Linked DNA regions of Homo sapiens: all the other regions are linked to region 3. Evidence: promoter capture Hi-C in 16 types of primary human blood cells and fetal thymus (Javierre and others, 2016). All regions are on one chromosome and are shown on one strand. The core of a region is centred on a gene start or on the middle of the fragment in contact, and the rest is flanking DNA. Distances in the headings are between cores, read along the strand shown.

The links. The method cuts DNA at HindIII sites, captures the fragments that hold promoters and counts their contacts. A CHiCAGO score of 5 or more calls a contact.
Region 1: a contact is called between a fragment that was not itself captured here and the fragment with the promoter of FLNB in region 3, in 1 of 17 cell types (naive CD8 T cells). The highest score is 5.3, in naive CD8 T cells.
Region 2: a fragment that was not itself captured here is called in contact with the fragment with the promoter of FLNB in region 3 in 4 of 17 cell types (naive CD4 T cells, erythroblasts, fetal thymus and 1 more); the score reaches 7.0 in naive CD4 T cells.

What each region holds. Positions count from the first base shown.
Region 1 is chr3:58,208,478-58,212,052 of GRCh38, forward strand. It overlaps DNASE1L3 (deoxyribonuclease 1L3), which reads right to left and starts at 2,495. Exons shown (of 8, transcript NM_004944.4): 1 at 2,289-2,495. The coding sequence starts at 2,429. The HindIII fragment of the contact is 7,867 bases long and covers 1-3,575 here.
Region 2 is chr3:58,230,572-58,234,180 of GRCh38, forward strand. No RefSeq gene overlaps it. Among named protein-coding and RNA genes, the nearest start is that of ABHD6, 5.4 kb to the right of the region's middle. The HindIII fragment of the contact is 2,595 bases long and covers 260-2,854 here.
Region 3 is chr3:58,005,941-58,009,778 of GRCh38, forward strand. It overlaps FLNB (filamin B), which reads left to right and starts at 2,482. Exons shown (of 46, transcript NM_001457.4): 1 at 2,482-2,916. The coding sequence starts at 2,625. The HindIII fragment of the contact is 11,042 bases long and covers 112-3,838 here.

The sequences.
Region 1 (3,575 bases), core at 292-2,791, 200 kb after region 3:
TTTTAAAGAGGAGCGTGAGACTCAGAGAAAGTTGAGTAAATTACACTCCCAATCACCCTACTAGAAAATGGCGGAGGCAGAATTTGAACCTATGTAATTCAAGCCCAGAGCCCCTTGCTCATGACCTCCCCACAATATCCTGCCTCTTGGCTTTGCTTGAATAATTACAATAATAATAATAAATATTTATTAAGCCCTTAGTAAGCAAAGATAACAGACTGGATTAGAAATAAAGAGGTATAATTATAATGATAATAATTATAAAAGCTGACATTTACTGCAAACCTACTCCGAGCCTTACAACAACCCTGTGGGGTAACTATGCTTATTAGCCCATTAAACATAGGCAGAAACCAAGCTCAGAGTGGTTGAGTGACTAGCTTAAAGTCATACAGCCAGGATAGGTGGTAGAGTCAGGATTTGAACTTAGGTCTGCGTGACTACAAAGCCCACCATGTTGAACTGTTAAAATACAGTCCCAGCCGGGCACGGTGGCTTACGCCTGTAATACCAGCACTTTGGGAGGCCAAGATGGGCAGATCACCTGAGGTCAGGAGTTCGAGACCAGCCTGGCCAACATGGTGAAACCCGCCTCTACTAAAAATACAAAAATTAGCACCTATAGGAGGTGCTTGGTCAATGGGCGCTAGGGATAATCCTATTCTGAATGCCTGGCATTCTCGGGTGACTGTGAGTGCCCTGTAGGGTAGCTCTTGCAGTGTTTTGGGGATGGCCTCTTGGTAGGATGGGGAGGGTGAGGCAGCCTTGACAAGGACTTCGGACATGCTCTGCAGGACACAGCTGCTCAGGGGAGATGCAGAGTTCAAGCCCCCATGATGGACTCACCAAGGAACAAAAAGACAGCCGGGTTTCATCAGTGAGGAAGGAGATGGGAACTCAGTGGCTACCCAGGCTCCACGGGCCATGTGTGAAGTGGGGAAAATCATTGCCTTGCATGTCAGGGTTTCCCATTGAACAATCTTGTCATGGCTCCCACAGGCTTGGCATTGCTATCCTGGCTAAACAACACCATCTAGAAGGCCTTGGTTACCTCCCAAAGGGCAGGGCCACCTGGGTCTGAGAGGCTCGTCCAAGGAAGAACAGAGCCTGCCAGTCCTCACTCCAATCCTCCTTCCCAGTGACAGCAACAGCAGCGGCTCTGGCTCATGAATACCCACCTTGCTGCAGGCTCTGCTGGGTGCCTCAGGCACCCTGAGTTCTCTTCACCAGCCAGTGCTACAGGTGGTATTTGGATGTGGTCGCCATTTTACTAGGGGAGCTGGTGGTTCAGGGAGGGGCAGGGCCTCCCAAGCTCACAAGTCTGGTAGGTGGAATCTGGACCCAGGGCTCCTGGCCCCCCTACCACACCATGGTGTCTCAGGTTTCCTAAGGTAATAAGTACCTTTCCAGAGTCCTGGGAAAGGGTTAAGTTGCCAGCATCAAAAATTAATTAACCTGTAGGATAAAGGGAGTCAATTGACTCCAGAGAAAGCAAGCAGTGTCCCCGGACATTGGGTATATCACCCAAGGAAAGCGTAAGCGAAAGTGGAAGGAGTGGGGAAGTAGAGGAGAGGGAGAGAGGAAGGAAGGAGGAGAAGAAGAAAGAAAGACAAAGAGAGGGAGGGATGATGAGGATGGGAGAGAGAAGGAAGGAAGGAAAAAAGTAAGGAAGGGAAAGGAAGAAAGAAACAAAGAAAAAGAGAAAGGAAGAAGAAAGAAAAGACAGAAAGAAGAAAGAAAAAGGAAGAAAGAAAAAGGAAGAAAGAAAAAGAAAGAAAGAAAGAGAGAAAGAAAGAAAAGAAAGAAAGAAGAAAAGGAAAGAGAGAGAAAGGAGCTGGGCTTTGCTGGTGAAAAGGAGTAGCTGTATAAGGTTACTTCATCTTTCTTTGTTCATCACCTCTACATGGGGAGTAATAGTCCCTCTTCATAAAGATTATGAAGTGAAACCATGTGCTTATAGTGCCTGATACAGGCATTCAATAAATAGCAATAAAAATCATAATGGCTAACCCTTATCTGGAACGTATAATGAGCCAGATACTACATTAAGAGCTTTCCATTTGCCAACTCCTGTAGTCCCCCCAGCAACCCTGGAGGGAACCATTGTTATCACCCCTGTTTTAAGATGACGGCAGGAGGTACAGAGAGTTGAAGTGGTTATTGTTCCAAGCCAGCTTCTACATTCCCCCTAAGGGCCAACTTTAAGTTCCTTGAGTCTCTTAAAGTCTGCAGACAGGAGAGAGGGTGTGAGGGGTGTCTGGGATCCTCCTCCCAGGAAAGGGGCTCACCTTCACAATGACATCCATGGCATTCTTGTCTTCCTGCTTGCTTTCCCCAAAGGACCTGACGTTGAAGGAGCAGATCCTCATGGCCAGGGCGCTGTGGATGGAGAGGAGGAGAAGCAGCAGTGGGGCCAGCTCCCGTGACATCCTGGCGCTGCTCTGGCTTCAAGACTCTGTGAGAAGACAGCAGTGCTTGGAGTGCTGGATTCTGGCCACTTCCGCAGGCTCCACTGACTTATAAAGCCTGCAGATAACAGGAATTACTGGATTTCTCCTTGCAACTTTCAGTTCTCTGAGGAACTGAAGATCATGGGTTTTAATCCCCAAGGAAATACAGATACATTGGGCTAGCCTTTAAGGAGCCCTTATGTTCGTCACCCTGGTGCAGAAATTGGCATGCCTCATTTAGGCGCCATCCTCCACAAAGTCACTCATATCCCAACCGGGAGCCAGCTCTGACATCTAGTCATCGGTCTTGCGGTTGCATGCCATGTGCCTTTTCCTGACAGTGGATGAACTCGGAAGTGGTCCACCCTAGAGGGCACCTGGGGTGACGGAACCTTCTGCTGGGGGACAATGAGGCAGGAGGCATGGGAAATTCTGCTCGGTTTTCTCTAAATCACTGGGATTTGGCGGCCTGCTGTCCTCAGACACACCCAGACTGTGACTCTAATTGCCCTGGTGGTGTAAAGTAAGGTCAAGAGTAGTTTGAATTACTTAATTTTTTTAGGCAGCTTTACCGTACAAATACTAGGAGTGTGTTGCCAGAGAAAGCAATTGGGGATCTGATGGAATGGATGAGGAAAATGTCCCTGGACTCTGCGAGCAAATAGCCCGTGAAACCCATGGAGAGACCCGTGATTGAAGCTGATATTAATTTAATATTGGCGAGAGTTGTGTGACCCTGGGAGAGAAAGGTCTTGTAAGAACTGTAGGATATCAACTCAAGCAAAATGACTTTTAGAGATATGGGCAGGAAACTATGAAGATCTGTAAAGCAAAAAAAAATTAAAAAAAAAAGCAAAATCCAATCAAGGTATATTAATGGACTTTGGCAAAGACAATTCTGTGAAAAGGGTAGGGAATAAGAATAACTCCAAGCCAGCATCGGGATCTGTGGACCAACCCCTCTTGTGGTGATGGGTCTGTGGCCACAGCCACAGGGAAAATTATACATATATCCCCAACATACATCCAGGCAGCATACTGGCCAAGCATGCCAGGAATTCTATAAGATAACCCCAAATAGTACATGGAAGGAAATGGTTTCCTGAGTTCGTGCTGCAATGAATC
Region 2 (3,609 bases), core at 307-2,806, 220 kb after region 3:
GGCATGATCTTGGCTCACTGCAACCTCTGACTCCCTGGTTCAAGGGATTCTCCCACCTCAGCCTCCAGAGTAGCTGGGATTTTAGGCACATGCCACCACGTCTAGCTAATTTTTTGTATTTTTAGTAGAGACAGGGTTTTACCATGTTGGCCAGGATGGTCTCGATATCCTGACCTCATGATCCGCCCACCTCAGCCTCCCAAAGTGCTGGGATTACAGGCATGAGCCACTGTGTCCAGCCTCCAATTTGGATTTTAAAAGCTTAAAGGTGGGATGGTGAAATTTCACCATAATGTTTTTGGCGTATTCCAAATTATTGAAGCAGTTTTGAATCTCAATTTTCTTCCTAGCTTTGTTTAATTTAAAATTTAATGAGAAGTCTGAATTTGTGTTCATCTCAATTAAAAAAAAATTTCAAGGAGAGAGAACTACAGCATTTTATTAGAAAATTGCTTCCAGGCAGGACATGGTGGCTCAGGGCTGTAATCCCAGTACTTTGGGAAGCTGAGGGAGGAGGATGGCTTGAGGCCAGCAGCTCAAGACCAGCCTGGGCAACATAATGAGATGAAAGAAAGAGAGAAAGAGAGAGAAAGAGAGGAAGGAAGGAAGGAAGGAAGGAAGGAAGGAAGGAAGGAAGGAAGGAAGGAAAAAAAATTGCTTTCAGTCTCATTTTGTCAGATTAAACAAAATTGGGCCACTGTTGTTTAACCTTCTATGACTTCACCAAACTGATATTTCGAAGTCTAAATTACTTCATCTTCTCCATAAACAGATTATAAAATGCTTTGTCCAAAGCCTACTACAGTCAAGATTCTGTATGCAATTTCCTGCAACAGTCTCCAGGTCTATTTATGCTAGTAACTGTGAAATATTATTCCTTTGGTGTGATCATTCACAGGGAACCCAAATGAGCTCTTGTACTTAACCTCTTTTGTTTTAGTTTAATAATCAGGTGCAGAACTTTGCTAAAAATCAACACCATACCTCTTGGTCTCGAGATCTGTTTATCAGTCTTTCTCCTTTATTTGAAATGGGACTCTCACTCGTTAAAATCTTCTAGCATAATTTATCAAAGATCACTGAATATGTTTCTTAAGATCAGATCTAAATATCCTTTTAGTATCTTGGGCAGTAATTTCTCTTGATCTGGTAATTTGAACTAATTTAAATTTTTGTGTGCTCTTTCTCCATCTTTTCTTCCTATCCTGAGCTCAGTTTCCCTCTTTGTGATATTTTCACCTGATCAAATCTTTTTCCATGATCAAGATGATGTAATATAGGAAACCGGTAGTTTGGCTTTCCCTCTGCCATCTGTTAACATTCCATATGCTCCGTTCCTTTTGCATTCATCATTTTTATCCTAATTTGGTTTTACATTAACCTTTTCCTGTCTTTAGCAGTGGAGTCCCAATCATTCTGGGTGTTAGTATCCCTCACCTCTTATTAAAGGTCCAGGTTAATCTTTTGGAAAATTTCCATCACCTTCTGTCTTAGTCCATTTTATGTTGCTATAAAGGAATACCTGAGATTGAGTAATTATTAAGAAATAAGGTTAGGCTGGGCACGGTGGCTCACGTCTGTAATCCCAACACTTTGGGAGTCTGAGGCAGGAGGATCACCTGCGGTCAGAAGTTCGAGACCAGCCTGGCCAACATGGTAAAACCCTGTCTCTACTAAAAACACAAAAATTAGCTGGGTGTGGTGGCATGTGCCTGTAATCCCAGCTACTCGGGAGGCTGAGACAGGAGCATTGCTTGAACCCAGGAGGCATAGGTTGCATTGAGCCAAGATTGTGCCACTGCACTCCAGCCTGGGCAACAGAGCAAGATGCTGTCAAAAAGAAAGAAGGAAAGAAAGAGAGAGAGAGAAAGAAAGAGAGAGAGAGAGAAAGAAAGAAAGAAAGAAAGAGAAAGAAAGAAAGAAAGAAAGAAAGAAAGAAAGAAAGAAAGAAAGAAAGAAAAAGAAAAGAAAGAAAGAGGGAAAGAAAGAAATGTAGGTTTATTTGGCTCATAATTCTGCTGGCTGGAAGGATCAAGACTGGCCATGTGATGAGGGCCTCAGTATGCTTCCTCTCATAGTGGACATAGAAGCAGAGCATGCAAGTGTAGAGATCACACGGTAGAAGAGGAAGCAAGAGAGAGTAGGGAGTTGCCAGGCTCTTTTTATATACCAACCAGCTCTCACGGGAAATAATAGCTTACTCACTACCCCATCCTGTCAAAGGGCATTCATCTATTCATGAGGGATCTGTCCCCATGCCCCAAGCACCTTCCATTAGGCTCCACTTCCAACAATGGAGATCAAATTTCTACATGAGATTTGGTGAGGTTCAACAAACCATATTCAAACTACAGCATCTTCCCACTTCTTTTCAGGTGCTTGGCAAGCCTGAGCTTATCAGAGTGCTGCAGGTGCAGTGACACTGATCTCTCAAAGTCCTCCCTTTCCTTCCCATCCAGGACACTCTCTGGCCTAGTGCTATGCTCAACTGGCATTTTCAGTGAATGAATCAATATAGTAGGAATTACAGTCTTAGAACTTCCTGATTAGTGAGTCCTTTCTATGATTATATACTACATATGACATGTGTTGACATATGTTGACTTGTTGTCTTGTGATATGTTCTTATTACTTAACTCTTGCACTGATGTTCTTTTTTTCAGGTGTATATAATTTAGACTGTTCTCCTTAAAGGAAGGGGTAAAATTGTATCTACCATAGCTTGGGTCCTATGCATAAGTAAATGCTTGTAAACATTTAATTCACAAATAAATGAATAAGCAATATTTTAAGGCATTTGGAAAGAAATATTTTTAGCCTAAAAAAGTTATTACTTCATAAAATGCTCAGTACAAGCTTTTTAAGGTGAGATTTTGTTGTATTCTTCTTATTTAATTCCATTACTTGTCATGGCAGCAGGTGGCTGAATGGTTAGAATATAGATTTTGTGCTCAGACATACAAAACTTTGTTTGAATTCTGGCAGTATCGTTGACTAGCTGTGTGACCTTGGTGATATGGTTTGGATGCTTGTCCCCTCCAAATCTCATGTTGAAACGTGATTCCCAGTATGGGGGTGGGCCTAATGGGGGTGTTTGGGTCATGAAGGCAGGTCCCTCATGAATAGATTAATGCCCTTTGGTAGGTAGGGGTGGTGGGTGAGTTCTCATTCTATTATTTCCCAGAAGAGCTGGTTGTTACTAAGAGTCTGGCAGGTGACTGGATCACAGGAGCAGACGCCTCATGAACGGCTTAGCATCATCCCCTTGGTGATGAGTGAGTTCTCAGTCTGGCAGTTCACATGTGATCTGATTGTTTAAAAGAGCGTGGCACCTCCTTTCTTACTCTCTTTTGCCCTCACTGTCTCTTGCTCCTGCTCCCTCTTGCTCCCACTGTCTTGCCTGGTGACACACTGGCTCCCCTTTACCTTCCACTGTGATTGTAAGCTTCCTGAGGCCCTCATGAGAGGCAGATGCTGGCACTATGTACAGCCTGCAGAACTGTGAGCCAATTAAACCTCTTTCCTTAATAAATTACCCAGTCTTGGTTATTTCTTTACAGCAATGCAAAAACAGACTAAGAGGCCAACATGGGGAAATCTTGTCTCTAC
Region 3 (3,838 bases), core at 1,232-3,731:
CAAATAACCTGTTACAGAATGGTTCTACCCATAAACTGGCTGGCCTCTTTTGAGCAACCCTCAAAGTTGCAAGCCCTTGCCCTCTGTCCTGGTCAACCTCTCTTCCTCAGAAGCTTGCCTGCTCTGAACTCCTCTCCCAAACCGGGTTAGGAGCCCCTTCTCTGGTATCAGGGCACCCTGTGCCTCTCTTACAGACTTGCATTATGGTTCTAACTGTGCTGTGTGGCCTGGGCAAGCCGCTCAACCACTCGGTTATTTCTTCTTTTTTTTTTTTTGAGACAGAGTTTCACTGTTATTGCCCAGGCTGGAGTGCAATCTTGGCTCACCACAACCTCTGCCTCCTGGGTTCAAGCGATTCTCCTGCCTCAGCCTCCCAAGTAGCTGGGATTACAGGCATGCGCCACCACGCCCAGCTAATTTTTTGTATTTTTAGTAGAGCTAGGGTTTTTTCATGTTGGTCAGGCTGGTCTCGAACTCCTGACCTCAGGTGATCTGCCCACCTTGGCCTCCCAAGGTGCTGGGATTACAGGTGTGAGCCACTGCACCCGACTTGAAAGAAATTGCTTTGCACTGTGCTTGGCACAGAGGAACAGCAGGTGTTCATTCAATGCTTGCTGTTGTAATTATTCAGGCTTTTATCAACAGAGGGCTGGCCTGAGACTCTGCCATATCTCAGAACCTAGCACAGAACCTGGATGAGTACAGAGTAAGTGCTCAATGTATGCTGTGGTAGGCAGAGTAATAGCCCCCAAAGACGTTCACATCCTAACTCTCAGGACCTGTGAACATTCCCTTAAATGGCAAAGGGGAATTAAGGTTGCAAACAGGATTAGGGTTCTTAATCGGCTGATTTTAAAATAGGGAGATCATGTTGGACTAACCAGCTGGCCCAATGTCATCTTAAGAGTCCTTAAAAGGGCCAGGTGTGGGGAGGTTGAAGCTGCAGGGAGCCGAGATTGAGTCATAGCACTCCAGTTTGGGAGACGGAGTGAGACAAAAAAAAGGCTGGGCAAGGTGGCTCATGCCTGTAATCCCATCACTTTGGGAGGCAGAGGCTGGTGGATCGCTTGAGGTCAGGAGTTCAAGACCAGCCTGGCCAACATGGTGAAAGCCCGTCTCTATTAAAAATACAAAAATTAGCGGAGCGTGGTGGCGGGTGCCTGTAATCCCAGCCACTCAGGAGGTTGAGGCAAGAGAATTGCTTGAACCCAGGAGGAGGAGGTTGCAGTGAGCCGAGATTGCACCACTGGACTCTAGCCTGGGCAACGGAGTAAGACTCCATCGCAGGAAAAAAAAAAAAAAGGAAGATGTGCCTATGGAGAGAGGACTGTCTGAGGTCTGAGAGACTCCACCTGACATTGCAGGCTTGCTTTTCTGTTTTTTTTTTTTTTTTTTTTTTTTTTGAGACGGAGTTTTGCTCTGTCGCCCAGGCTGGAGTGCAATGGCACCATCTCAGCTCACTGTAACCTCTGCCTCCCAGGTTCAAGCGATTCTCCTATCTCAGCCTTCCCAGTAGCTGGGATTACAGGTACGCGCCACCACACCTGGCTAATTTTTGTATTTTAAGTAGAGATGGGGTTTTACCATGTTGGCCAGGCTGGTCTCGAACTCCTGACCTCAGGTGATCCACCCACCTTGGCCTCCCAAAGTGCTGGGATTACAGGTGTGAGCCATTGTGCCCAGCCCATTGCAGGCTTTCACAGAGAAAAGGGGCAGGAGTCAGGCGCGCAGGCAGCTTCTGGAAGTTAGAAAACACAAGGAAACAGATTCTTCCCTACAGCCTCCAGAAGGGAATGCATCCTGCCAACACTTTGTTTTTAGCTCAGCAAGACCTGTGTGGGCCATCGAACCTACAGAACTGAAGGATAATACATTTGTGGGTGTGTGTTTTCAAAGACACTAAGTTTTGGTAACTTGTTACAGCAGTAACTGGAAACTAAGACATGCAACAAGCCTTATTGTTCATTTTTACCACCACTACTGGGCTGTTGGTTATGGTGGAATTACACTTTTCTCTTCCATTAGGCTGTGTGAACTCCTTGAGGTTGTGCAATACGTTTGTCTGATTTACTACTGGTTAGCAGGCTCTGAGAAGAATGGCTGGTACACAGGCGGAGCTCAATAAAAGCCCTTACTGAATTTTATTCAATCTATATGTGGATGAAGACCTCCGCCCCGCGCGCCCCTCCCGCAAGTCCCACTGAGGCCCGACCCATTCTGTCCGGCTCCCAGCCCCCGCGGGTCCCCCCACCCCGGGGCTGACCGGGTGATTCAGGCAGCCCTACATCCTGCTGGGGTGGTGGGCTTCGAGCGCGGGTCCCAGGACGCAGTGGGGCGCAGTGCCTGCGGCAGGCGGCAGGAGGCGAGCGTGGCCCAGGAACTCCCGCGGGAGGGTCGGGACGGGGCGGGGCTTGGGGGCGGGGCGGCTCAGCGCGCAGGCGCGGGGCCAGGCGCCTCGCGCGGCCAGGGGCGGGCGGCCGCAGAGCAGCACCGGCCGTGGCTCCGGTAGCAGCAAGTTCGAACCCCGCTCCCGCTCCGCTTCGGTTCTCGCTCCTTCGGCCCTTGGGCCTCCAAACACCAGTCCCCGGCAGCTCGTTGCGCATTGCGCTCTCCCCGCCACCAGGATGCCGGTAACCGAGAAGGATCTAGCTGAGGACGCGCCTTGGAAGAAGATCCAGCAGAACACGTTCACACGCTGGTGCAACGAGCACCTCAAGTGCGTGAACAAACGCATCGGCAACCTGCAGACCGACCTGAGCGACGGGCTGCGGCTCATCGCGCTGCTCGAGGTGCTCAGCCAGAAGCGCATGTACCGCAAGTACCATCAGCGGCCCACCTTTCGCCAGATGCAGCTCGAGAATGTGTCCGTGGCGCTCGAGTTCCTGGACCGTGAGAGCATCAAGCTCGTGTCCATCGGTGAGTTCTCTGGCCGGGCCCAGGCGCCCACTGTGGTGCCGACCCGCCCCCGCGCGTGCACCCCTGCGGAGGGCGAGGATTTCCCGCAGCGCGCCCCCACCTCGGAGATAAGGGGGAGTCGTCCCCAGGGGTGGGTTATAGGGGGCCTAGACCCCCTCCCCGGTGTCTTCCCCTGGGATGGGACCTGTTGTGATCGCTCCCCGCCATCCGCCCCAGCAGTGCACCTTTGGCTGGCTAAGGGTTGAGGGTTTGGGCTGGGGTCACAGGAGGAGAGGTGGAGTTGTTGCATTTCTCTACACCTGGGGCGCCCCTATGGGAGCTAGGGGACTAGAAACCCTCGTTCGCTGTCCCCGGGGGCGGGCCCTAGGGTCAGATGCTCCGCGGAGTGCTCTCCCTGCTGCGCCCAGGTTGGTGCTCTCAGAGGCAGCTGAATGGGCGTTGGCTCGGAGGCCGGGCCGTGAGACCTGAGGAGGAACCGTTCTCTGCGCCTGGGGCCTCCCTGCCCAGGTGGAGACAGAGACCTGGTACCTTCCCCTGCCGTCGCTGGAATGGGTGTGGGCCCCGAGGTTGCAAGGGTAGGCGCGGGTGTGTGTCCTCGCTCTCTCTGCTCCCAGCTCAGCTCTGGCCGCGCGCCGCAGGTTGAACCCACTCCTTGCTGCCGAAGTTATAATTTAGAGATGGTGGTGGTAACAGTAATTGCTGTCTTGTAGGGAGCCCAACTAGCGTCCACTGTGTACCGTCAGCCTTCTAAGTTATCTCCGTCCCTACGCATCCTGCCATCTGGGGTGAGGCTAGACCCATTTTACAGATAAGGGGGTCCGGAGGGTTAATTGACCTGTCCAAGGTCAGCAAGTAGGGCCCAGCTGAGAACTGAAGGAAGTGGGCAACAGTTAGAAGGAGGCTTTGTTTTCCTCTCCTCTCC